Regions from separate parts of the Homo sapiens genome. Here all the other regions are linked to region 1. The links are contacts of gene promoters, found by promoter capture Hi-C in blood cells and fetal thymus (Javierre and others, 2016). All regions are on one chromosome and are shown on one strand. The core of a region is centred on a gene start or on the middle of the fragment in contact, and the rest is flanking DNA. Distances in the headings are between cores, read along the strand shown.

Region 1 (3,723 bases), core at 1,224-3,723:
AAATTTTGGTACACACACACACACAATGGAATACTATACAGAAGTGAAAATTGAGGAATAAAATTTGCTTATATCAAAATGGTGATTCTCACAAACAATAATTAGTTAATACAGTGATGACTATGAATAGTATGATATCATTTCTGCCAAGTGTAAAAGAGACAAAGACAATTTTTTAGGGATATAGTCATTTGCAGAAAAAGCACGAAGAAATGCACATGGAGGACAAGAGTGGGAGACAACAGGGAAGGAATCTGCAGGCGCTTACCCTCACTGGCAGTGTTTTATGTCTTCATCCAGTTACTACATTCAGGAGTACTGGATGTACTTTTTAAGTACGTTTTGTATGTTAAATATTGCAGAATGTATTTTATAAAGTATTTAATTACCAGAAACTCTTTAAAAAATTCCCAGGCCTGTTTCAGACTCAGCAGATCAGATTGCAGAGGTGGGGCCCATGAATCTGCCCCTTTTGTGACCCCGATAGTCACTACTGGTCTAAGCCAGGGCAAGGCCACCCCGGTGGAGGTTGCTTCCTTCATGCTGTATTATGTTTTTCACTTTACAAGTAATAATGTTTATCCATCAGTTCCCCAACTTTGGTGCTGCTGTGTTATCTACCATGCAAGGAGATGGGGAAGCAAAAGTAATTAAGACATTTCCACTGGTTTCAAGGGCAAAGGTTAACTCCAATATAAAGGAGTTCTAAAACTTTTCAAATTGGACATATTCACATCTATTGTCTTGATACCAGTGTTTCCAAATCCTTTTTTCCCAATGCCCAGAACATCCACAGATCACTGCGTCTGTCTGGGAACTTCACAGGCTTCTTTCCGGAGACATTCCAGACACGCCCCTCTGCCTTGGCATGAATACTTGGCATCTCCCCTTGACATCTCAAGCTTTGTCATTTACTCACTGTGTGACCTTGGGCCAGTAGTGTCCCTTCTCTGAACCTCTGTTTCCACCCCTGCAAGTTGGGCAGATGAAGGTTCAGTTTGAAGCTGGTTGAGCCCTTGGAGTGACAAAGCAAGGGACTGTGAATGGACAAAAATGAGAGAAATAAATTCTAATAGGCATGAAGCAACCAGGGGAGAAATAGTCCCAATTCTACCCAAAGACTGATGGGCACTAATTTAGAATCCAGTCTCAATTCTACCTTCAATACGGTGTGTGACCTTGAAAATGTCTCTTAATCTCTCTGAGCCTCATGAGTCAAATCAGGATAATGTTAATACCTGCTTCAGAGTTCTGGTGAGGAGCAAATGAAATAACTCCTGTAAAGATGTTTCAGGAATTCTGTCTGACCAGGAAAAAGCCCTTGGGGCCATTTCTTCTTGGTCCCTGACAAGTGCCAGGCTGACGAGCAGAACTCAGGGTGGGGCAGGAAGTCAGTGGACAGTTTTGTGCCCCACTCACTGCAAGGTGGCCTCCCAGACTTGGCTGGATGGGTGAACCTGGCCTGAAAATCAACCACAAGCCCCTTTTCGTTGTGTTTGGAGAGGAGCTGAAGCTGTGTGAATAGGAGTTGAGCATGCGGCTGGCAGAGCAGGCAGGACCCACAGAACACCTGGGCCCACTGCCTGAGGGACAGTCACTCCCTTCTTCATTTGGCTGCTGCCCTGGGATCAAACGGATACAATAGAACCCACGGCGCACGGCTGCCAAGGAAGGGCAGGCCCAAGGGATTGGGCTCCAAGTCCTGGAAGTGGTTTCCCAAGTCACTAGATTTGCAGCGCACAAAACCGGAAAGGTCCCGGTAAACCTGTCCACTGGCACCTGGGCAGCGAAGCGCTTTGGCCGGAGGGCCTCAGGTCCCAGCAGCGGGATGGACAGCGGGGAGATGGCTGACCCTCCTTGGGGTGGTGTGCGTGACCTGCATGAGTGCCTGGGGCATCTCCTGCACGGAATGGCACCCGCACCAGGTGCCCCTGGCCTCGCCAGCCAGAGGACCAGTCCTGGACGGGGAGGGGGAGGACAAGAGCAGGTGAACAGGCCCCAGAACCCGGCTCCCTGACCCTGGCCATAATGCAGAGCTGCCTGGCGCACCTCAGACCACTCCCTGGCCCTCTGGTGGGCACGCCGGGGTGCAGACCCCTCGCCCCGCTGGCACCTCCGTGGCACGTGCGGGAGGGGCAGGAGCCGGGACCAGGAACCGCTGTGGTGAGAGCCAAAGGCACGGGGACTGGCCGCCACAGACCTTTGGCCACCGCAGTGGGGATGGGGGTGGGCGGGCGCTTGTGTGCCCGGGGGCCCGGGGGCCCCCGTGGCGGGGGGGCTAGGGGAGAGGAGCAGGTGACGTCACCCGGGGACCTGGGGCCCCCAGGGGCGGCGGCGAGAGCCCGACCTCGTGACCCGTCCGCGCCAATGGCCCTGCGGTCTCCCGGACGACGCGGAGGGGTCCGCGCTGCACCGCCGCCGCGCCCCCGCCCCGTGTCCGCACTGCAGAGAGCCGCGGCGAGCAGGCGCCGGCGCACTGGCCCACGTGCTGCGCGAGCGAGGGAGAGCCACAGTCTGAGCGAACGTCCGCGCTGGGAGCCAGGGGTGCCCGACCCCCGTCCGCCGCCGCCGCCGCCGCCGCGCATAGCCCCCGGAGAGCCCTCTGGGGACCCCGACCAGAAGGGACCTTGCCCTGGGAGAAGGTAACAGACCCACCTGGGGAGGGAGACGCTGGGCCCCGGGAGACTCCGCCGCCCCTCGCCTGTCCGCCCTATCAGAACTGAAGCAGCCTGCAGGGCAGGGGTCCAGGGTCCTGGGGCAGCGCGGGGAGGGGGCTGAGGCCCGCAGAGACCCCACGGGGGGTGGGGGTGGGGGGCTGGGCAGGGGCGGGGCCTGGCTGCAGAGGCGCCGCCCGGGGAGGAGGGCGGCTGGGGGTGGGGGTGGGGGTGGGCGTGGATGTGGGCGTGCGGAGAGGTGGGCATTAACCTCGCTCTCGCCCTGCTCGCATTCACAGGCTGTGGAGACCTGGGCCTTCTGCGATCACCCTAGGAGTTGATCCAGATATGTGCCTCACGCCCTGATCACTCCCCCCAAATTAGTATCCGCAGAGATTCGAGGACATGCCGTTGACCTTGTTACAGGACTGGTGTCGGGGGGAACACCTGAACACCCGGAGGTGCATGCTCATCCTGGGGATCCCCGAGGACTGTGGCGAGGATGAGTTTGAGGAGACACTCCAGGAGGCTTGCAGGCACCTGGGCAGATACAGGGTGATTGGCAGGATGTTTAGGAGGGAGGAGAACGCCCAGGCGATTCTACTGGAGCTGGCACAAGATATCGACTATGCTTTGCTCCCAAGGGAAATACCAGGAAAGGGGGGGCCCTGGGAAGTGATTGTAAAACCCCGTAACTCAGATGGGGAATTTCTCAACAGACTGAACCGCTTCTTAGAGGAGGAGAGGCGGACCGTGTCAGATATGAACCGAGTCCTCGGGTCGGACACCAATTGTTCGGCTCCAAGAGTGACTATATCACCAGAGTTCTGGACCTGGGCCCAGACTCTGGGGGCAGCAGTGCAGCCTCTGCTAGAACAAATGTTGTACCGAGAACTAAGAGTGTTTTCTGGGAACACCATATCCATCCCAGGTGCACTGGCCTTTGATGCCTGGCTTGAGCACACCACTGAGATGCTACAGATGTGGCAGGTGCCCGAGGGGGAAAAGAGGCGGAGGCTGATGGAATGCTTACGGGGCCCTGCTCTCCAGGTGGTCAGTGGGCTCCGGG
Region 2 (3,109 bases), core at 577-3,076, 490 kb after region 1:
CACTGCTGGCAGCTCAGCCCAGCCACCTAGAGGAGACCTTAGCCCAGCATGGGCATAAGGATCACCTGTGAGTGGGCGCCCCGAGTCCACTCTGGCCAGATGAGAAAACTGAGGCCCAGAAGGGCTGACTCACCTGAAGCTCTGGGTCCCAGTCAGTGTGTTTCCCAGGCCAGCTTCCTTTCAGCCAAGCCTGAGGACCTGGGAGACAGAGTGGTCGGCTGAGGGCCAGAGGCCCGGCTCTCCTCTCAGCCCCGGACAGCTGGCAGGTGCCGACACCCTGGGGCCAGCATGAGCCTGGCTGTGAGACGCAGGAAGCAGGAGAAGGGGTGGGAGGAGCGGGGAGGAGGCCAGCCGTGGCCCACGGAGGACAGGAGATGTCGGCCAATGCAGCAGCCAGCTCTAGGTGCTGGAGTCCATGGGGAACAAGGCAGGTCCTGACCCTCAGGAAGGTCACAGGCAGAGATGACCCAGGCAACGCCCTGTGCGGAGCTGGGTTTGGGAGGGCAGTGGGGGGACAGCCCGATGGCTGCAGCCCTGGGTTGAGGAGGTGGCAGCAGGTGGGGCACAAAGCTGGAGGGGCCCAGCTGGGTGGGGCAATTGTGTCCTGACGCCACTGGGAAGAGGAGCCGTGGCGAATGGCCTTGGGCTGGCAAGTGAGGAGGAGCAGGAGGAGGCAGAGGTGATGGCGGTAGTGCCAAGAGCCCCAGTGGATCGGGGACCAGAGTAGTGAGGGAGAAAGACGAGTCTGCTCTCCCCAGGTCGCTGCGTCGGTCCCGGGGCAGAAGAGGGAGGTGGGGTGGCCAGGATTACTCTGGGCCGTGGAGTGGGTGCGGCCAGAGCTTGGCAGGGAGGGAGATGAGGAAGTGACAGAAGCAGAGGAGTGGGGAGAGGAGGGAGCCGGAGTGGGGGACACACCACCACCATGTCGAGGGCAGCAAGGATGAGGAGCACAGGACCCACCAGGGAAGAAGGGAGAGGAGCCGTCTGCTCCAGGGGAGAGGCAGGGAGGGTGCTGGAGGGACAGATGGAGCCCGAACAGGCGCAGGGCTGGCTGGTGGGAGGAGAGTGCATGGGGCTTCTGGGCCTCCCTAAGGGAGGTAGGAGGTGGCTCGGACACCAGTAAGCAGATGAGTCAGCTCAGGGTTCTGGAAGATTCCTCGGGCCACAGGCCTCTGCTCTCAGGTATTATTTGGGGCATTCCAGGACCAGTCACCCTGTCTGTGTGCCCAAAAGCCTTGTGCTGTGTCTGTCCTCCCTTCTCCCGAGAGAACCATCTCTGTCCCACCTAGAACAGTGCTGGAGCCACCCCACCCACCCCAAGAGGGCCTGGGCTTAGGAGGCGAGAGAAGGGAAGCTGATAGACTTGGAAATAGGAGAGCTCCACTGAATCCCGTCTCCTCTCTATGGTGTGGCATGTCTTTCCCCCACAAAAGCCCCTTATAACGCCTTCTCCCCAGCCAGGCACTGACCTTGGCCATGGGGTTCCTCTGTGTGCAGCTAAGAAGCAGGATGGTGCAGTGGCCATGGAGATGCAGCCCCTGAAGAGCGCGGAGGGTGGGGAGATGGAGGAGCGGGAGAAGAAGAAAGCCAACGCACCCAAAAAGGAGAAGTCTGTCCTTCAGGGGAAGCTCACAAAGCTAGCCGTGCAGATCGGGAAAGCAGGTAGGGACAGCAGGAGGTGGTGGGCCCAGGCCATTGACTGGGCGTGGAGGATGCTGGGCTCCTGGAGATGAGCCCAGGCTGTGTAGAGCAGGTGGGAAGGGATGTGGCAGGTGATGTGTGGGCCAGGCAGGCAAGGGCACAGGCCAGGCCGGCAGTGGCCATCAGGGCCTGGCGCAGCCCTTCCCTAGTGAGCAGAAGTCCCAAACCCTCGACGAAAGCCCGGGTCACACACTGAGCCACTGCCCATGAGGTGCCCCTACCCAAGGCTCCAGGCTCTGCCCCTGGCACCCTCAAAAGGCAGCTGGGGGCATGCAGGGCTGGTACCCCAACTTCTGGGGTGCAGTGGGGGATTGACTCTTGCTAGTCCTCCCCAGCGGTGCTTCTCCTGCCATCAGACCACAAAGTCCACTCCCCAACCCCAGCAGCACTCCAGAAGAGGCCACACAGAGCCCCCTTGCAAACAGGCCCCAGCTCACCTGCTGAGCCAAACCTGGGCTGTTTATCCTGAAACGCAAGGCAAATCTACAAGGCCTTCACAAATGCCTCCGAGACCGTGTCCATACCTCTTCTTCCCTCTTCCTGTCCCCCTCCTTCCCTCACCCGTGGCAACCCCTTTCGTCTCCTCCCCGCTCTGTGGCAGGGCTGGTGATGTCTGCCATCACCGTCATCATCCTGGTCCTCTACTTTGTGATTGAGACGTTTGTCGTGGAAGGCCGGACATGGCTGGCAGAGTGCACGCCGGTCTATGTACAATACTTCGTGAAGTTCTTCATCATTGGTGTCACTGTGCTGGTCGTGGCTGTCCCAGAGGGCCTGCCTCTTGCTGTCACCATCTCCTTAGCTTACTCTGTCAAGGTAATCATAAAACTTACAGTTGATACTGTTTACAGACTCGGAAACTGGGGTAAGAAGTCATTGGGCGCCTTGGTGGCAGTATAAACTGGGGACGTTTGGGATAGCTCAAGGGAGGAGAGGAGGTGCCGAGCAGGGACCCAGGGGGCAGCTTTGCTGATCTGTCAGCTCAGGTCCCTCGGCATGAGATGGGCCAGAAAGCAGGCAGGCGGTGAGATACCCAGGGGTTCAGCATCTGCACAATGTGGGCAGTAGGACGGAGGGGCTGGGAGGCAGCGGGGAAGCGGAGAATCAGCAGAGGGCCCGGGACACTGGGAGGCAGTGGGAGGAGGTGGGGGGAGCCAGGTGTGGGGTGGTGGGGTGGTGGGGTGGTGGGGTGGGAGAGCTGCAGGGCTGGTGGGTAACTGAGAGGGGGCTCGGGCAGGGGAGGTCCCGGGTGCGCATCCCGCCCCCACCATTGGATGAGGTTGCTGATGCCTTACAGCCTCGCTATTGGCTCAGGGCTGACCAGGTGCCCAGTGGGCTTAGTGCCACACGTGGAGCTAGCTGAGCAGAACAGAGTCACGCGATGTTTGTGTTGACATCTCTCACTCCT
Region 3 (3,723 bases), core at 543-3,042, 470 kb after region 1:
CCGGTTCGAAACTGAACCTACATTCCCACAGATTGCGGGCCAGGGGTGTGATGGTGGCACAGGGCGTGACCAAATGGGAAGGGGCCCTTTCTCCAGGTTGGACCAGCCCGGCAGTAACCGCTTGGCTCCCTCAAAGAGCAGCAGGAGCAGGAGAGTGTGTCCAGCCCCAATTCTCGGGCAGAGCAAGGGCTCACCAGGCACAAGGGTCCATTCCGCCCCCCACCATGGGCCTCAGCTCCATTTCTCCTGGAAGCATCCAGGACCAGACACTGCCACATCTTGGCTTGGAGCCACAGGCCCAGGAGAGATGGGCTCAGGAGCAGCTGGTCCTGGCTCCTCTGGCTCCTGGGGTCTCTGGGTACCTTCCTGTAGTCAGAGGGCGGCTGCCAGCAGATGGTCCCACGTCTGGTGCAGGAGAAGAGGGAGGGCTGTGGACGGGTAGGGCACGTCTCCCACCTAGTCTCATCTCTCCCTCCTGGCCTGTGGTTCATCTGCCCACAACACTGTGACCAGCAGCTAGGCTTGGAAACCTCTGTCCTGGGGAGTGGAGCAAGAGTCCCCCCTTGTAACCCATCCATGGGGCCAGAGGGTAAGAATGCGCTGACCTGGGGGCCACTGCCCCAGACGCCTGCCCTGGTAGCCCCTAGGGAGGCACTCGTGGCTGTGTCTGTAGGTGGGATGGGGTGGGTCAGGGCTCCCAGGCCACCGCCTGGCCCTCTGCGCCCCATCCACCCTTCCCCGAAGGAGGAAGCTGGGCTATAGCACAATCGTGGGAGGGGGTATCTGAGATGGAGACGGGCAGGGTTGGGGTCTCCCCTAAGGGAGGAGGGGAGGGGGTGAGCACACAGAGCAGAAATCCACCCCTTCAGGTCCTGTCCCCAGCCCAGCTGTGCTCTCCCGGTGCCTTCCCAGTGGGGAGAGCAGGCATCTGTCCATGAGCACAGAGGGGGCGGGAGGAATGGTGCTGATGACAGATGATGATAAGAGGGTCAGGAACTGGAGGAGCAGCTGGTGGTGGGAGGGTAGGGGGAGCTGATGGGCTGTGGGGCGCACTGAGGGAGAGACTCGGAGCCCTGTGTTGGTGTTGGGTCCCGGCCTGAGAGGGGGCCTCTGCCTCTGCACTCCCTTCAGGCACTCCTGGAGCACGGCAGGAACTTGGTGGTGCTTCCTCTGGGCTTTGCTGGAAAAGCTTTGGGCTCGTATGCCGGGTTCCTCGCTCAGAAATAGTGTCTTAGGCAAAATTCAAAAATGAACCAGCAATGCTCAGTTCACGCGATTCAGACAGCAGCCAAGCCCTTGATGACCTTCGCGTCCTGCAGCCTCGGCTGCAGCTTCTGAGGTACCCTCTCTCTGGGCATCCTCGCCACTGGCTCTTCCTCCATCACCACATTTGGCAGCAGGCATCCTGCCCCCTCAGCTGGGGAGAGTGGCACGGATACTTCGGTGTGCTCGTTCCTTGGGTCTAGATCACAGAAGGGCAGGCTTGACTCCCATCTTCAGTTGGAGCCCCCATTTGGAGGTCTGCCTCCCAGATCCTTTTATTGGCCTCTGACCTTGACACCAATGCATCCCCCCAGCCTGTACTCCCAAGGACTTTGGCCTGCTTCCAGAAACCAGGATGCCCTCTCTACTGCCCCTGCCAGGATTCCTAATGGGGCCCCATGGGACTCGTTCCCTAGGAGGACACGTGTATGTGTCCTGGTAGCTCCTTATTTAGTCACTGCCTGTCCAAGCTGGAAGGACTTAGCCCAGGGCCCACAGCCCCATGGCCTCCAGCTGCCTGTAATTTCCTTAATTACCTATTTAGGCCCCGACGGCTTCCGGTCCTCAGAGCTGGCTCTGAGATTGGAAGCGGGCTGGGACGGGCACCGAGGTACCACAGCAGAGCCGGGCCGACTTGGGGCACCTCTCCTCCCATCCACGTGCTCTCTGGCTATGAAGGGCTGGGAGGACAGGGACCCGGCTTCCCATTGGACCCCAAACACGAGGTCTCCGTCCCTTTGTAGGCTAGAGTCTTTCACGCTGGCCACAGCCACAGCGTTTCTAGGTCCCCATGCCGTCCCTGCCTTCGGGGCTGCTGGGCAGGCCCGGGCTGGCAGGAGGGGCGTGGGGAGCACGTAGGGGCAGGGTAGTGGCTGGCCAGGCTCACGCTGCTATGCAGCTCGCACACCCGCTGTAATTGGATAATTAGTGTCATTATGCTTCCTGCTCCCTCGCTCTCTCCTTCTGCAGCTCTTGCCTTCTCTGGCAGGAAACAAATGACTGTCCCCCAACCCTCAGTGTAGACTTCTGGCCCCAATCACAAAGGGGCTTCCAACCTCCCCGTGGGATCCAGGGACACCCAGCATTGTGAGGGCCGCCTGTGTGGGAGACAGGAGCACTGCGGGAGTCCGGGCAAGCTTGGGGAAGCATCCAGAGAGGCACATGGGTTCAGCCCCCGGCCGAACGGAATGTTCTGACTTCACCGGTCGAGCTTGGTCCTGACCTGTGAACTCTGGGGTCCAGCTGGAGTCCAGCTGAAGACTTCAGGACAAGCCTCGGGAGGGGAGCGTGTGGCGGGAGGGGCTGACTCAGCGAAGAGCATTGCCCTGCTCGGCTTCCTGGAGATCTCCTGGGCTTGAAGGAACCTCCGGGAAAATGGGCCCAGTCCCCTGGGGACCAGCCTCAGGGTGTGTGGGCAGGTGGAGCCCTGCCTTCTCACCAACCCAGCAAAAAGGAACGAGGACCATTTCGCAGATTAAAAAGTGAAGGCCCAGAGAGCTTGAGTGACCAAAGCCAGCACCTGCACTCTGGAACCCTGAGGTTGATGGGGACAGATTTCCTGTCCAGTCACTTTGCTGAACTCTTTTCATTGGTTCTAATCACTTGCTCGTTGCTTTTCTGGGCTTTTCAGGGCAGTATAACTTGGCAGAGCAGCAATGTCGAATCCTCTGGAGCTAGACCACTTGAGGTCCTGTTGGCCTCTGCTTCTGGCTTGCCGTGTGACCTTGAGTAGGCTCTCTAACCACTCTGTGCCTGAGCCGCATGTGCTCTTTGGTGGGGAGGGCCACCCCATGCTATAGAGGCTGCTGGCAGAGTGATAGTCATTCTGCCTCTCATCCGTGGCTCTATCATCTCCCTTCTGCCTCAGCTAGAACTTCTAGGACAATATCACCCCCCAGGGAGCTCAGGGGAAAGTGGGGGTTTGGTAGGTCCTGGAGACCTCAGGGAGGCCTCCTGGCTCTCCCAGAACCAGGCTGGATTTGGGTTAGGAGTGAACATTTACTCAGGCTATGGGCTTGGCCTATCTAACAGAGACCCAGCATAACAGTGGCTTCAGTGAGAGAGAATTGACTTCTTTCTCATGTAAGAGTCTAGGTGGGCAACCTAGGGCCAGCGCAACAGCTACTTAGCCCTCAGGAATCTGAGCTCCTTTGATTGTGTCATACATGGACTCCATGTGCAAGATGGCAACAGATAGATAGCTGCGGCCGCACCTGTCCCCACATCAGCATTCCAGCTGGCAGGAAGGAGGGGAAGGGCAGAGGAGAACACATTCCTTCTCTTTAAGGACATGGCCCTTGAATTCGTCCCTGTCACTTTTGCTCATACCCAGTTGGCCAGGACAGAGTCAGATGGTCATGGTTAGCTGCAAGGGAGTTGGGGGAATGTAATCATTAGCTGGATGACAAGACACTTAGCTGAAAATTAAAACATGACGTAGGAGGTGGGAGAGTAGCTAGC
Region 4 (3,723 bases), core at 1-2,500, 450 kb after region 1:
ATGGGAGCTCCCGGGTTTGCGGCTCACTCATGTGGGTTTGAGCAACCACAGCTGCAGGACCGGATCGCTCAGTTCGGCTCCCTTCGTGGCTGAAAACGTTTCATCACGTCCACTCCTCCCAGCAACAGAGGAGAACGGATTTCATTGTAGCCAGTGTGCGTGTGAGGAAACTGAGGCTTGGAGCGGCAAGGCAGTGGTGGCACTGCTGGGGCTCAGGACCGGGCCTGGGTGCTGCCTCCTGCCCTGCACTCTGCTCACAAGCATGGACTGAACCTCCTCGAGGCCCAGTGGGCTGGGGAGGCACAGGAAGGCAGGAGAGAGGGGCGGGTGGGGTGGGGAGTCTGTGCCTTCACCTCCTCCGCCCACCCTGCTTCAGGCCCTCGTCCTGGTGAACAACAAGATCTCCAAGATCCATGAGAAGGCCTTCAGCCCACTGCGGAAGCTGCAGAAGCTCTACATCTCCAAGAACCACCTGGTGGAGATCCCGCCCAACCTACCCAGCTCCCTGGTGGAGCTCCGCATCCACGACAACCGCATCCGCAAGGTGCCCAAGGGAGTGTTCAGCGGGCTCCGGAACATGAACTGCATCGGTGAGCTGAGGGCCTCCCAGAACATTCCAGAGCCTTGTCTCGAGGCATGGGGAAGGGAGACCAAGGGATACCTTTAGAGGCTCAGTTCAAGAAAGAGTATGGTGAGAACGGTCAAAAGAAAATCCATGGATTTCTTGGCAAATCCTCCATGCAGGCGATCACCACGGCTAAAGAGAAGACTGGGCCAGAGGGGCCGGGTGGCTTCCGGGAGCCCCATCTTCATCTCTGGCACTCCTCCCTTTCCTCTTGCTGCCCCTGGAGCTAGCAGTCCTGGGGCTAGCAGTCCTGAACAGCTAGGAGTTTGCAATTAGCCCGGTAAATTAGCAGAACTGCTTTCAGGAGACGGGAGCAGCCGGCAGGTAGCAGGGCCCACCACACTGGCCCGGAAGTGACAGGACCCAGGGCTGTGCAGGGACCACCAGGCTCCCGGGCTAATGAGGTCTCTCCCCTAGAGATGGGCGGGAACCCACTGGAGAACAGTGGCTTTGAACCTGGAGCCTTCGATGGCCTGAAGCTCAACTACCTGCGCATCTCAGAGGCCAAGCTGACTGGCATCCCCAAAGGTAGGAAGCCCACTCTTCCTGCACGCCTGCCTGCCTCACCCCCAACAGCACAGATGGCCAGGGTGGGGGCTCTGGATGGGCCCGATCTACTCAGGGAAAGGCTCAACAGTCCCCTCCCGCCACCTGGGGCAGAGCTAGGGCCCCTGCCCTCAGCACCTGCATTCTCCCCTGTGCCCTCTTCTCCTGGCAGACCTCCCTGAGACCCTGAATGAACTCCACCTAGACCACAACAAAATCCAGGCCATCGAACTGGAGGACCTGCTTCGCTACTCCAAGCTGTACAGGTGAGGCCAGCAGGGCACCGCCCAAGGGTGATGCCAGAGTCCCTCAGTGCTGTGTGGCCCCTCGCGCCCAGCCCCCCATCCTTACCTCCAGCCTTTGAGTCCGTGTCATTCTCCCGCTCACAGGCTGGGCCTAGGCCACAACCAGATCAGGATGATCGAGAACGGGAGCCTGAGCTTCCTGCCCACCCTCCGGGAGCTCCACTTGGACAACAACAAGTTGGCCAGGGTGCCCTCAGGGCTCCCAGACCTCAAGCTCCTCCAGGTGAGAGCTGGGCATGCACAGCCAGGTTCCCTAAGGCTGGGCTGGGGGAGGCGTGTGTGTCCCCGGGCAGTCCCTCAGTCCCCTGGCCCTCCTTCCCGACCGGCTCTGGGCATCTGCAAGGGAGCGGTCCTGATGCTCCCAGCTGGTGCTGAGGAGGCAGGGAGCAGGGGCTCCATGGTGGATACCGAGCAAGGCAGCCTGGTAGCTCTTGGACCCGAGGGTCTCCAGGTGGGTCGGACACCAGAAAGATGTGGCAGAGTCCAGGGAGTCGAGAAACTGTGGGCGTGGGAGTGCACAGATCTGTGCCAAGACAGTGACCGCCCAGGGCAGGAAGTAGGCTGACGAGGGGGAGCAGGGTCTTGCCTGGGATTCTATCGGGAGCTTCCATCCCTGGCCTGGCCCGCAACCAGGTGGGTGATCTTGGTCTTGCCCAGCCCTGCTCCATCCACAAGTGTTTGGAGCACCCCCATCCGCACCAGCTGCGAGCCAGCACCGCGCAGGCCATGCCCATGCTGGGCCGAGTGCGCCCTCTAGTGGCCATTGTCATGTTCACCAGCACTGGGCTCCCAGCCCAACCCAGCAGGCGCCTCGCCTGCCCACCTCCGCTCCTCCCAGAGACAGCAAGACGGTGGCTCCAGAGAGTTGGAGGGGCTGCTAGAGGGCGAGCTCCTCTGCTGACTGGAAGAAAGAGGAGGGCATCCCAAGGGCTCTTTCTCCTCTCATGCCCCATGGAGTGTGAGGGTGCTCCCCCGAGGCTCAGGCCACCTTTCCTCCACCTCACACCACCAAACACACCTCTACCCCAGCCCCGCCCCCACATGTCCTCAACCTGACCCACCTGAGACCCTCATCCTTGTCCCTGGTCACATCCAGTGCCTTAATCCTGGCTGACACCCACACAAATAACACGCCCATGCCTTGGTTTGCTCCTCCCAACAACGGGGAGCCTCTGGTGTGGCCCTTGAAGTAGGGTGCAGAGGCAACAGCAAAATGCCTCCTGGAGGCAGCGGGCTTGGCGTGGAGGGAGGGAGGCCTGCCGTGACCCGGCCTCTCTGCCTTCAGGTGGTCTATCTGCACTCCAACAACATCACCAAAGTGGGTGTCAACGACTTCTGTCCCATGGGCTTCGGGGTGAAGCGGGCCTACTACAACGGCATCAGCCTCTTCAACAACCCCGTGCCCTACTGGGAGGTGCAGCCGGCCACTTTCCGCTGCGTCACTGACCGCCTGGCCATCCAGTTTGGCAACTACAAAAAGTAGAGGCAGCTGCAGCCACCGCGGGGCCTCAGTGGGGGTCTCTGGGGAACACAGCCAGACATCCTGATGGGGAGGCAGAGCCAGGAAGCTAAGCCAGGGCCCAGCTGCGTCCAACCCAGCCCCCCACCTCGGGTCCCTGACCCCAGCTCGATGCCCCATCACCGCCTCTCCCTGGCTCCCAAGGGTGCAGGTGGGCGCAAGGCCCGGCCCCCATCACATGTTCCCTTGGCCTCAGAGCTGCCCCTGCTCTCCCACCACAGCCACCCAGAGGCACCCCATGAAGCTTTTTTCTCGTTCACTCCCAAACCCAAGTGTCCAAGGCTCCAGTCCTAGGAGAACAGTCCCTGGGTCAGCAGCCAGGAGGCGGTCCATAAGAATGGGGACAGTGGGCTCTGCCAGGGCTGCCGCACCTGTCCAGACACACATGTTCTGTTCCTCCTCCTCATGCATTTCCAGCCTTTCAACCCTCCCCGACTCTGCGGCTCCCCTCAGCCCCCTTGCAAGTTCATGGCCTGTCCCTCCCAGACCCCTGCTCCACTGGCCCTTCGACCAGTCCTCCCTTCTGTTCTCTCTTTCCCCGTCCTTCCTCTCTCTCTCTCTCTCTCTCTCTCTCTCTTTCTGTGTGTGTGTGTGTGTGTGTGTGTGTGTGTGTGTGTGTGTGTGTCTTGTGCTTCCTCAGACCTTTCTCGCTTCTGAGCTTGGTGGCCTGTTCCCTCCATCTCTCCGAACCTGGCTTCGCCTGTCCCTTTCACTCCACACCCTCTGGC
Region 5 (3,723 bases), core at 833-3,332, 420 kb after region 1:
GAGCTCCCCGGCCGGGCCTGAGCTCCAGCTTCTGCCCAACCTCCGTTCCCTGCCGAGGTCCTCGAAGCCCACCGGAGGGGATGGGGCGGGGCCGCTTTCACACGGAGTCCAGCGAAGCCACGCTATGGGCGGGAATGAACTCGAATTTCACACGGGCAAAGAGGGTGGGAAACTGGCCCCTATTCTGCCCCCATCCCGACCACGGCCCTGCTCCCTATGGGCTGGTCCCTGCTGCGTGCCACCCTCTGCAGTCCCCCTCCACTGGCACCCTCCACCCCATCCGCAGCCACCCTTGTCCCATTTGGGGTCCTGTGTTCCCCTTCCCTCCTTTTTCTTCTCCACCCCCACCCCGCAGCAGGCTCTCTCGCTCAGGATCACCAGGTCTCAAGCATTTAGTGCTCACCAAAGCGTCTGCAAGAAAAGTCATTTAATTGGGACCAGATCCTCTGAGGTTTCAGTAGCATTAAAATAAGATGGGTTTCCTCTAGGGAAGAGTTGCGGGCAACAGGAAGAGGGCATGGAAAATGGGGCTTTTTTCTTCTCCAAGCTTTAAGGGGGAAAGGCCCCATATTGTTACTGACATATAAGATAGCTGCAGGCGCATGTCCCCAGAGAATGCCACCCATGTGCCACACACTGCTGTCGTTTTCACTCAGACAACATGTGGAAAGCTCAAGAATGGGCCTGTTCCTTTTCTCTGGGGGTCACCCCAAGGCTGTGTCTCTGGCTGCCCTGGGCCCTGGGAAAAGGACAGGCACGTAGTAGGTGCTCCTGCAGAGAGCAGGAGAGCAGGAGAGCAGGAACAGCCCCCAGACCTTGACCCTGAGGCCCAAATGCTCCTGACCCCACCCGCTCCTCCTCGCAACCCCGCCTCCACCCTTGGCCAGCCACTATCACCTGGCCCCTGGCGGGCTCAGCTGCCACACGGTGGCTCCCACCTCCTACCCTTATGCCCCCAGTACATCTGCTCGTGCTCCACCCCACAGCCTGAGGGGGGCCGGATCCTGTGACTCCTCTGCTTAGCAGTCCAAGGTGGCTCCCTGATTCTTTCAAGGACAAAGGCAAGCCAGCCCACCGCCACAGACACCTTCCCACGGCTCACTCAGCCTGCTCCACCACATTGCTGTCATTGCCAATGCTCAAATTGGGCCCAACCCTTTCTCACCTGGGGCCTCTGCACTGGCCATCCCTCTTTTTCGGAGGGCTCTTTCTGTGGCTTTTTGCATGGCCATGGCCTCTTCACTCATGCCTCTGCCCAAATGTCACTTTCTCACGGTCCTCACCTGATCCCCTGTCAGTGAGCAAAGAATCCACTGTCCAGTCCTCGTTGATGACAGCCTTGAGGGACAAACAGCATTGCTTTGGCATCCTCCAGGCTACCAATCTGAGTCCCAGCTTGTAGAGGGTATGTGTGTGCATGAGTGTGTGAAGAGTGGGCTACATGGAAGGGAAGGGGGAGGAGGACAAGGGACAGGAGTCCCTTCCTTGACCTTAGAATCCTGGGATTGTACAACTAGAAGCGACCTTGATCATGTAATCCAGCTTCTCTAGGCGCCTTCTGGCTCTCAGATTCTAGAACTTTCTAAGGAGCCTGTTTCCACCATACTGAAATGAGAAGACTGGGGCACTGAGGAGGGAGGGAAGCTTGTTCCTGATGTCACATGGCCAGTCCGTCCATGGCAGAACTGGGAGCCCAAAGCTCTTTCCAGCAACCCTCGGGCTGCATCCCTGGTTCCTGGAAAATCCCAACAGCCCTCCCACCCTCTGCTCCAGACACCGGGCTCGGGATTACTGTTGGCTTGGGGCCTGCCTGTCTCAGCACAAGTCCGTCAGTGAGCTCTTGGGCGGGGGGGAGGGCAAGGCAGAAACTTGCCGGGAGCCTCTGGCTCTGCTGAGCCCCTGAAGGCTGGCTCTGCTCCATGGGGGTTCCTTCAAGGTCCCCACAATGGCCGGGTGCCCTGGGACTGGACAGAGTGGGCAGCAGGAGTACCACTCCCCAGGGGCCCACCCAGGTCAGCCACCAGGCTCCCGACCAGGGGAAGGGCAGCGAGGCCAGGCCTCCATGGGAGCTGGGAACTGAGAGCACCCCAGGCCTCACCCCTTCCTGCCTAGGTGGGTAGGAGCGGAGTCCCTCCCTCCTCCAGGCTGGCTGTGCCAGAGAAACCTGGGAGCAGGCTTCCCCCACCCCCAGCCCAGCTAATGGGAACCAGATGGCAGGATGTTTAGTCAGCGCCTGGGGAGCGGCGCAAACAGGGGAAATGGGTAGGGGGCCAGGATTCCAGAATCCATCCCCAGGCAGGGGGAGGGGCGGAGCCGGGGTTCCCATCACCGTCCAGTCTCCCGACCCCAGGTGCTAGGCTCAGCTCAGGCAGGGACCTACCCCGTTTCTCAGGCGATGCCTGGACCAGGAGGCAGGAGGACTGGCCTCTGGTATCGAGACTTGGGTGAGCCCCACTCCTTCTCTGTTCCTTCTCTGTAAAATGGGGGGTCGACTGTGCTCTGTCTTGCAGGATCCTGGGGCAAGCTTCACTTAGTCTTGGCAGCATACTTCAAGTCTGCCGTGCCCCAGTGCTACCCTGTCCCAGCTTCGGCAGCTGCCCCCAGGCAGGACACTGGCCCACAGCCATCCTGTGTCACCCACAGGACGCACAAGGAGATGGTGGCCTCATCCCTGACTCCAGAGGCATTTGCTGACTCCCTAGATGGTCCCTGTTTCTGGTCTGTACGTGGCAGGGTCCAAATTCAGGTCAGAAACCAGAGCCCTGGATGGCGAGGGTACCCTGGATATAGCAGAGGACCCCATGTGGCTCCTACGGGACTGTTAGCTGGAGCGGCAGCTCCTCAAGGAGCCCAGTGAAGACCCAGTTGCCAGGCCTCCTCCCCACCTTGACCAGCCCTGCACCCCTCTGGATCTCACACATTGCCTCATTGCCCCAGGATGGAGACTCCTGCCTGATGGCCCTTGCCGGCCCCTGCCCCTCCTCCACTGCTTCCCTTCTCCCCTCCACCCAAGCCTTGCCCACAATTAACTCATTTCTTAAGATCGCTTCCAAACCTAAGTCAACGCTGGACAGGGCTGTAGGAAAAGCTTCCTCAATACTGGCCCTGAAGAGCCGAGCCAGCGGTGAGATCAGTCCTCTCTGCCAGCCCCCGCCTGCCTGCTCCCACAAACCCTGGCTCCCACAGCAGAACGCGGGGTTGGGGCTGCAGGGACACCCCAGTTGGAGCAGGGACTTCCGGCAGCCCTCTGAGGGTGGCGGGCTCTAGGAACTGGAGCCAGACACCCCCTTATTTGCCCCTCACTCCACCACACGCCCCTCTGGCCCCACCCAGCAGTCCCCTCATCGAGCCCAGCCTATTTTCCACCTCATGTCATCCTGACCCACAGGTGCCCCTCTGACCAAAAGGATGCGTGCAGCCTAGGCACATCAGAGATCCCAGACTGTTGGCCAAGAAGTCTGGGGGGGACCTGTGACATGGCTTCACCCAGGCAGTGCCTGGAACACCCATGCTCCTATGTAGGGGGTCGGGACAGCCACAGAACGTCAACTCTGCCCCCTACCCCATTTTACAGAGGAGAAGGTAGAGACCTGGAGGGCAAGCAGAGGAACCAGGAGCCAGCCCAGCCCGAGGCACACCCATGCCCAAGCAGCACTGGGGTCTCAGGCACGGGAGGCATACCCTCGCCGCCTGCACTGTGCCCACAGATTCTATTTCCTCTGG
Region 6 (3,723 bases), core at 1,224-3,723, 400 kb after region 1:
AGTGAGAAGCCTGGCTCTCCGAGGAGACGGCTGGCTGGAGGGTTCATCCAAAGACAGTCTCCAAAACTAGGGCTCAGAGGCTATGGACCTGAAACCACTACTTGGGGGTGCAACAGTGGAAAACATTTACAGCAAATGCTTTAGCTGCTGCTGCCTGAGGCAGTGCATAATAGCCGGGGCAAACAAGAGACTAAACAAGAAGCTCAGGAGAGGCTGGAAAATCAGATGTCCACAAAGGCTCTGGAAAGCTCTGGCACAGTCCTGGGAATCTGGAAGACCATGGGTGTGTGCCGGGCTGTGAAAATCCCAGAGAGAGAGACCTGAGAAGGCCCTGATCTCTCACCTCTGGCTGACCTTGAGGCTCTGAGCAAGCAAGATGTGAAGGAGAAAGAGCTGTCAACTACCTGGCTGAGTGTTGATGAAAAACATGAATGACGACACATTTACAAAGCTCAAAAAGCTCCCAATGGAATAAATTCACAGTGATTCACACGAAGACAGATTATAATCAAACTGTCCAAAGCCAGGGACCAACAGAATTTTGAAAAGAAAGTGAAGAGACTCATCATATACCAGCTGGCTTCGCATCAGAAGCTTTGGCAGCCAGAGGACACTGAAATGACACATTCAAAGTACAAAAGAATTCTATATTCAGCAAAACTATCCTTCAAAGATGAAGGAGAAATGAAGACATTCCCACATAAAAAATGAGGGAGTTCATCACTAGTGAGCCTTCCCTACAGGAAATACTAAGGGTAGGCCTCCGGGATGGCATGGAAGGACACTAGACAGTAACACAAATCCACATGAAGAAATAAAGAACTCCAACAAAGGTAACAACATCGATAAATATAAAAATGTGTACCAATGTACACATTTAATACAGCTTCATTCTAATGGGCAAAGTTTTTGTATACAACTGAAATTAGTTTGGTAATACACTGTTTTCAGTTAGGATGCTAAATGCAATTCTAAGGACAACCACTTAAAAATAACTTTTAAAAGAAGTGTTAAAGAACCAACAAGGGAATTAAAATGGTGTACCCACAAATACATTTTGCTTTAATAGGAGGCAGTTTCTGTATACTATTGAAATTCATTTGGTACTAGACTGTTTTCAGTTAGGATGCTAACTGTAATTCTAAAGCCAACCACTTAAAAAATAACTTTAAAAAACAGAGTTAAAGAGGCTGGGCGCGGTGGCTCATACCTATAATCCCAGTACTTTGGGAGGCCGAGACAGGTGGATCACCTGAGGTCAGCAGTTCGAGACCAGCCCGGCCAACATGGCAAAACCCCATCTGTACTTAAAAATACAAAAATTAGTCAGGCGTGGTGGTGAGTGCCTGTAACCCCAGCTACCCGGGAGGCTGAGGCAGAATTGCTTCAACCCAGGAGGTGGAGGTTGCAGTGAGCTGAGACTGCACTCCAGCCTGGGTGACAGAGCGAGACTCCATCTCAAAAAGAAAAAGAAAAATACGTTCACACAAAAGACTTACGATGTACATAGCCAAAAAGTAGAAACCCACATCTACCAACTACAACAAAATGTGGGATATCCACACAATCAAATATTATTCAACCATGAAAAGGAATGAACTACATGGATAACCCTTACAAAACTTTATGCTCAGTGAAAGACACCAGTCACAAAAGGCCACACATTGTTATTCCATTTATAGGAAATGTCCAGCACAGGCAAATCCATAGAGACAGACAGCGTCTCTATGACAGTGGTTGCCAGGAGTTGAGGCTAGGGAGGGATGGGGAATGGCTGCTAATCATATGGGGTTTCTTCTGGGGGTGATAAAAATGTTCTGGACTCAGATAGTGATAAGAGGATGGTTACACAACTCTGTGAATATCCTAAAGACCATGAAATTGTACACTTTTAAAAGGGTAAATTTTATGTTATATGAACTTGAATTCAGTAGAGCTGTTATTTAAAAAATAAATTAGAAGAGGTAGAAAACTGGCTTTACCTTCTTTCTTTGGGTTTATTTTGCTGTTTATTTTCTAGCCCCCTGAAACGTGGTATTAGTGCAGGGATAGCAAAAAAAAAAAGGAATAGAATGGAACAGAGGAGAACCCAGAAACCCACACATAACATATGGATACTTAATAATTACCAAGAGTGATGGTATTGCAGATCAATGAGAGAAAGAGTGATTTCCAGTCAATGGTGCTGCGACAAATGTGTATCCATATAGGATACGAGGAAACTGGATCCCCACCTCACTCCATATGCAAAAATCAACTCTGAGAAGATGGCCCTCATTATAAGCCTTTTCCCATTTTCCTTAAGTAACTTTTTTTTTTTTTTTTTTAAGACAGGGTCTGGCTGTCACCCAGGCTGGAGTACTGTGGCGTGACCTCAGCTCACTGCAACTTCCCTCTCATGGGCTCAAGTGATCCTCCCACCTCAGCCTCCCAAGTAGCTGAGACTGCAGGTGCACGCCACCATGCCCAGCTAGTTTCTGTATTTTAGTAGAAACGTGGTTTTGCCATGTTGCCCAGGCTGATCTCTATGCTCAAAGTGGTTCATCCTCCTCTGCTTCCCAAAGTGCTGGGATTACAGGCATGAGCCACCGCGCCTGGCCCAAGTTACATTTTTAATTGTCAAATACTATTCCATTCAGGCATTTGTTATCATTTGCTTCACATTTTCTATTACTGAGTTATCTCAATTTTCTACGATGAGCGTTTTCATTTGATAATCCGCTGAAAGCATTTTTTCAAGTGAAGGAAAACATGCATTAGAAAATGAAAAACAAAAGAAGGGGCCGGTCCCCAAATGCTCCTCCAGGGCTAGTGGAGCACAGAAAAGGAAGCCTGTGCGTGGGGCAGCCCCAGGCAGAGGGCCAGGTGGGCAGCCACGTACCTAGACTCATGACGGAGCTGCTGCCACCCCAGCAGATCTGCTCGCCTTGCTGCTTCTTCACGGTCTCCACGGCCTTCGCAGAGGTGTCAGCAACTGCCATGACCACTTGCAGCAGCTGGGGAGGGAGGGAGGGAGGGAGGGAGGGAGGGAGGGAGCGAGCAGGCACTAAATGCCGCTGGTCTCACGTAGCGACGGCATCTCCTGCTTCCCACCCCCACTCACACTGATCAGGTGGCATTCACCTGAAAGACAGCCAAGGGTGAGGGACAGAACTCCCAGCGGGGAAGTCACCAATCAGAGTTCTCGGACCTAAGTCCCCTCTTCCTGGCCCAGTGGGGATGCCACACTCTCATGTCGCTCTGGCAACCCTCGATGCCTAGGGACATGCCAGCCAGCACTGCGTGTCCTCCCAGCCCCAGCAATTGGCAAGGGGGGAAAATAAATGTCCCAAGAAAAATGGACAGGAGAGGGCTGTGGCCTCACCATCCCTGATCGAGGGGTCTCACAGGACCAGCCAGTCAGAGGTTGGAAGGCTCGGAGCCTCTCGCTTAGAAAACCAAAATGAACATCACGGAATCCTTGAGCCAAGGGCAGAGTTGCGCACGTGGGAACTGTAGTCATCGTAACTAAAGCCGGCTTTTTAGGTTGGCCTCTGGGGATCTCACATGTGGAACAACGAAACAAGCAAACATTGACGAGCCCACTTCCTCTCATCCTGTCTGAGCAGGCTCATGGGCAGACAGGCAGGCATTTGTCTGCCTGTCTGGCACAGTTCTTGGTCATCCACAAGAATGAATGGACCTTGCTATTTTGGAGCGTAACGTGACAACAGTGCGGCCAAC
Region 7 (3,723 bases), core at 699-3,198, 380 kb after region 1:
ACTCTGGCAGCCTGTGGATCCTCATCCTCACCCAGCAGGGAAGGAAAGCAAGAATCCTTGTGACCAAGCAGGTTAGCTTCAAAATGCATTTTGATACTCGGGAGGCTGAGGCAGGAGAATGGCGTGAACCCGGGAGGCGGAGCTTGCAGTGAGCAGAAATCGCACCACTGCACTCCAGCCTGGGCGACTGAGCGAGACTCTGTCTCAAAAAAACAAAAAACAAATGCATTTTGAAACTTCGTCTTTCCTTTCTTGCTTTCAGCCTTAATGTACTTTGAAACTCCTTGTTTCCCTCCCTTCCCACCAGACACTCCCTTGCACTGCTCACTCACCTAATTTTGTGCTTACTTAGTAGTTCCAGGGCGCTAATCTTGAGACAAACCAAGCATGGAAATCTAGCTGTGAAATTCCAGGCGGTCAGTCTACAACCCAGCCATCGTAGAGATGATGCCAGCCCGTGCTCCCAGTGGACCATGACTCAAGATAGCCAAGGGAACAAGGCACACAGACCTTGTGCCCAGTGCCCCGCCTGCATGTCTCCCATTCCAAGCTCCCTTTTACTCCTCTCGCCCACATAAAGCTTGAGATGGTTCCTCTGAGGCTTGAGCCTGGCCAGCCCGGCCATTCTCCCACCTGCTAGCACTCGAGTAAAAGCTGCTTTCGGCCAGGAGTGGTGGCTCACGCCTGTAATCACAGCACTTTGGGAGGCCAAGTTGGGTGGATCATTTGAGGTCAGGAGTTTGAGGCCAGCCTATCCAACATGGCGAAACCCTGTCTCTACAAAAAATACAAAAATTAGCCAGGCATGGTAGTGCGAGCCTATGATCCCAGCTACTCAGGAGGCTGAGGAAGGAGAATCACCTGAACCCAGGAGGCGGAGGTTGCAGTGAGCCGAGATTGTGCTACTGCACTCCAGCCTGAGTGACAGAACAAGATTCTGCCAAAAAAAAACAAAAAACAAAAACGGCTTTCCTTTCACCACACCTCGCTTCTTGTATTCTGGCCTCCAAACAGCAAGCAGCCAGACTTGAGTCGGTTACATTCTGCAAACATCTGCTCACTGCAAAGCTGCAAGACCAAACAACCCCTGCAACAGAACAGAGGCCTCAGAGAGGAAGGGGCGGTGGGCAGCCACCTCACAAAGTATGCGCTCAATTGAAATAAGTGATGACAGAGGGGCTGGCTGGGCTGGCTGTAAGGATCAAGTACAGATTCGTGGGTGTTACGCACGAAGAAAATTCCAGAGAACAAAGACCAGACCGTGCTATAGTGACTGGGAAGGTAAAGTTTATGCATCAACCTGGCCAGTCTACAGTACCCAGTTTTGGTCAAACACCAGTCTAGATGTGGCTGTGAGGGTGTTTTTAAATAAAATTAGTATTTAAATGAGAAGACTAAGTACAGCAGATTGTTCTCCATGCTGTGGGTGGGCCTCATCCAATCAGTTGAAGGGATTAAGAGAAAATGACTGAGGTCACCCAAAGAGGAAGGAATTCTGCCTCCAACTCGAGCCTTTGGACTCAAACAACTCTTCCCTGAGTGTCCAGTGACTTGCCAACCTCCATGTCACGTGAGCTGATTCCTTAAAATCTCTCTCTCTCTACACACACACAAACACACACACACGATATGATATATATCATATACATGGTGTGGATATAATGTGTATTTTTGGTGTGGTTTTTTGGGATTTTTTTTTTCTTTTTTGAGACCGAGCCTTGCTCTGTTGGCCAGGCTCACCACCACACCCGGCTAATTTTTGTTGCATTTAGTAGAGACAGGGTTTCACCATGTTGACCAGGCTGGTCTCGAACTCCTAGCCTCAAATGTTCTGCCTGCCTCAGCCTCCCAAAGTGCTGGGATTACAGGCATGAACCACAGTGCCTGGCTATAATATGTATCAAGTATTTGTCAGTATATATGTGTCATGAGTATATGTGTGTTAGAGCGTGTGTATATATATATGTGTGTGTATTAATACAGTTGTAATGCAGTAAGCACAAACACACAGCAACTAAATGCATAAAGAAAAATGACTAGACATGAAGGAAGACTTCAAGAAAATGCAATTACAATGGAATGTTCTAATATATTGTCATTAAATCAGACAGATATAGTCAACAAAAAAAAAAACAAGTAAAAATGTAAAGGAAATTGAATAGTACAATTGTCAACTAGATTTTAGAGATATATAGAAAAGCCTGCATCTCTGAAGCAGGTGCATTTTTCAGAGTCTATAACATATTTTACAGTTATTTATGTATTCGGCCTCTGTTATCCATTGAATTGTGTCTGCCTCCCTCCTCCCCCTAAAAAAAGATATATTACAGCCCAAACCCCCAGTACCTCAGAATGGAGCCTTATTTGGGGATCTTCACAGAGGTAATCAAGTTAAAATGAGGTCATTAGGGTGGGCTGTAATCCAATATGACTGTGTCATTATAAAAAGAAGAAATGTGGACACAGCGCCTTGTATGCAGGGAGAAAGAGGGCTGTGTGAAGATGAAGGCAGAGATTGGGGAGAGGCTGCCACAAATCAAGGAACACCAAAGATGGCCAGCAAAGTCCCGGAAGCTGGGGGAGAGCCTGGAATAGATTCTCCCTCACGGCCCCCAGGGGGAACCTTGCCCTGCCAACACCTCGATCTCTGACTTCTGGCCTCCAGATCCGAGAAACAGTCCATTTCTGCTGTCGAAGCCCCCTAGTTTATGGAACTTTGCTATGGCATCCCTAGAGAACTCAAGCAGCCCCCAAACTACCTTAATTCGAAAAGGTGATATTTTAAGCAACACATCCTCAGATTATTATCCAATACAACTAAAATACACAACAAAACATGACTGGCTGGGTGTGGTAGCTCATGCCTGTAATCCCAGCCCTTTGGGAGGCCGAGGAGGGTTGATCACTTGAGCTCAGGAGTTCGAGACCAGAGGGAAACATGGCAAAACCCCATCTATACAATAAATACAAAAATTGGCAGGCTGTGGTGGCGCATGCCTGTAGTCCCAGCTATTTGGGAGAATGAGGTGGAAAGATAGTTTGAGCCCGGGAGGCGGAAGTTGCAGTGAGCCAAGATTGCGACAGTGCATTCCAACCTGGGTGACAATGAGACCCTGTCTCAAAAAAAAAAAAAAAAAAAAAAGATCATGAAATCATAATTACTCAGAAATTAAGATAAACTGCAGTATATAAGCATGAGATCAAGAAGGGAATGGAAAGCAAAATTACAAGCTATTCCTAAAGCAAAGCAAAGAAGAATGTTTAATAGCAAACCTATAGGACACAGTAAAATCTGCATTTAGCGATAATAAAGTGTCAAGCTTATTGATAGATACAATTTCAACACCAAACGCATCACTGGCCATAATGTTTAGGGTACAGATTGAATACACACTTTAATTTAAAATACCCGAATCACTCAAAAGATACTAATAAATCAAAGTTTTAAAAGATTCAGCTGGGCATGGTGGCTCACACCTGTAATCCCAGCATTTTGGGAGGCCAAAGCGGGCAGATCACCTGAGGTCAGGAGTTCGAGACCGGCCTGGCTAACATGGCAAAACCCTGTCTCTACTAAATATACAAAAATTAGCTGGGCATGGTGGCATGCGCCTGTAATCCCAGTTACTCGGGAGGCTGAGGCAAGAGAATCGCTTGAACCCAGGAGGCGGAGGTTGTGGTGAGCCAAGATCGTGCCATTGCATTCCAGCCTGGGTGACCAGA

What was found. Contacts are between HindIII fragments. The CHiCAGO score rates a contact against its expected background, and 5 or more counts as called.
Region 2: a contact is called between a fragment that was not itself captured here and the fragment with the promoter of PNMA3 in region 1, in 10 of 17 cell types (non-activated CD4 T cells, M0 macrophages, activated CD4 T cells and 7 more). The highest score is 10.2, in non-activated CD4 T cells.
Region 3: a contact is called between a fragment that was not itself captured here and the fragment with the promoter of PNMA3 in region 1, in 10 of 17 cell types (total B cells, M1 macrophages, M0 macrophages and 7 more). The highest score is 10.7, in total B cells.
Region 4: a contact is called between a fragment that was not itself captured here and the fragment with the promoter of PNMA3 in region 1, in 10 of 17 cell types (total B cells, M1 macrophages, naive B cells and 7 more). The highest score is 11.4, in total B cells.
Region 5: a fragment that was not itself captured here is called in contact with the fragment with the promoter of PNMA3 in region 1 in 11 of 17 cell types (M1 macrophages, naive B cells, naive CD4 T cells and 8 more); the score reaches 11.0 in M1 macrophages.
Region 6: a fragment that was not itself captured here is called in contact with the fragment with the promoter of PNMA3 in region 1 in 12 of 17 cell types (naive CD4 T cells, naive B cells, activated CD4 T cells and 9 more); the score reaches 11.1 in naive CD4 T cells.
Region 7: a contact is called between a fragment that was not itself captured here and the fragment with the promoter of PNMA3 in region 1, in 11 of 17 cell types (naive B cells, naive CD8 T cells, non-activated CD4 T cells and 8 more). The highest score is 11.4, in naive B cells.

Annotation. Positions count from the first base shown.
Region 1 is chrX:153,053,997-153,057,719 of GRCh38, forward strand. It overlaps PNMA3 (PNMA family member 3), which reads left to right and starts at 2,474. Exons shown (of 2, transcript NM_013364.6): 1 at 2,474-2,642; 2 at 2,954-3,723. The coding sequence starts at 3,060. The HindIII fragment of the contact is 3,087 bases long and covers 901-3,723 here.
Region 2 is chrX:153,546,338-153,549,446 of GRCh38, forward strand. ATP2B3 (ATPase plasma membrane Ca2+ transporting 3) reads left to right here. Exons shown (of 22, transcript NM_001001344.3): 9 at 1,498-1,662; 10 at 2,303-2,517. Among named protein-coding and RNA genes, the nearest start is that of ATP2B3, 30 kb to the left of the region's middle. The HindIII fragment of the contact is 4,010 bases long and covers 1-3,109 here.
Region 3 is chrX:153,525,299-153,529,021 of GRCh38, forward strand. The region is part of intron 2 of ATP2B3 (ATPase plasma membrane Ca2+ transporting 3); the gene reads left to right. Among named protein-coding and RNA genes, the nearest start is that of ATP2B3, 9.5 kb to the left of the region's middle. The HindIII fragment of the contact is 1,210 bases long and covers 1,188-2,397 here.
Region 4 is chrX:153,505,487-153,509,209 of GRCh38, forward strand. BGN (biglycan) reads left to right here. Exons shown (of 8, transcript NM_001711.6): 4 at 377-590; 5 at 1,043-1,153; 6 at 1,344-1,437; 7 at 1,561-1,699; 8 at 2,762-3,723. The coding sequence ends at 2,959. Among named protein-coding and RNA genes, the nearest start is that of ATP2B3, 10 kb to the right of the region's middle. RefSeq lists enhancers at 1,952-2,051, 2,132-2,181. The HindIII fragment of the contact is 3,973 bases long and covers 1-3,237 here.
Region 5 is chrX:153,475,046-153,478,768 of GRCh38, forward strand. It overlaps a transcript of HAUS7 not described here. Among named protein-coding and RNA genes, the nearest start is that of HAUS7, 6.3 kb to the left of the region's middle. RefSeq lists enhancers at 930-1,469, 1,665-2,165, 2,166-2,666. The HindIII fragment of the contact is 880 bases long and covers 1,643-2,522 here.
Region 6 is chrX:153,451,513-153,455,235 of GRCh38, forward strand. It overlaps HAUS7 (HAUS augmin like complex subunit 7), which reads right to left. Exons shown (of 10, transcript NM_001385482.1): 9 at 2,882-2,996. Among named protein-coding and RNA genes, the nearest start is that of TREX2, 7.3 kb to the left of the region's middle. The HindIII fragment of the contact is 3,762 bases long and covers 593-3,723 here.
Region 7 is chrX:153,434,550-153,438,272 of GRCh38, forward strand. No RefSeq gene overlaps it. Among named protein-coding and RNA genes, the nearest start is that of TREX2, 9.6 kb to the right of the region's middle. The HindIII fragment of the contact is 2,740 bases long and covers 579-3,318 here.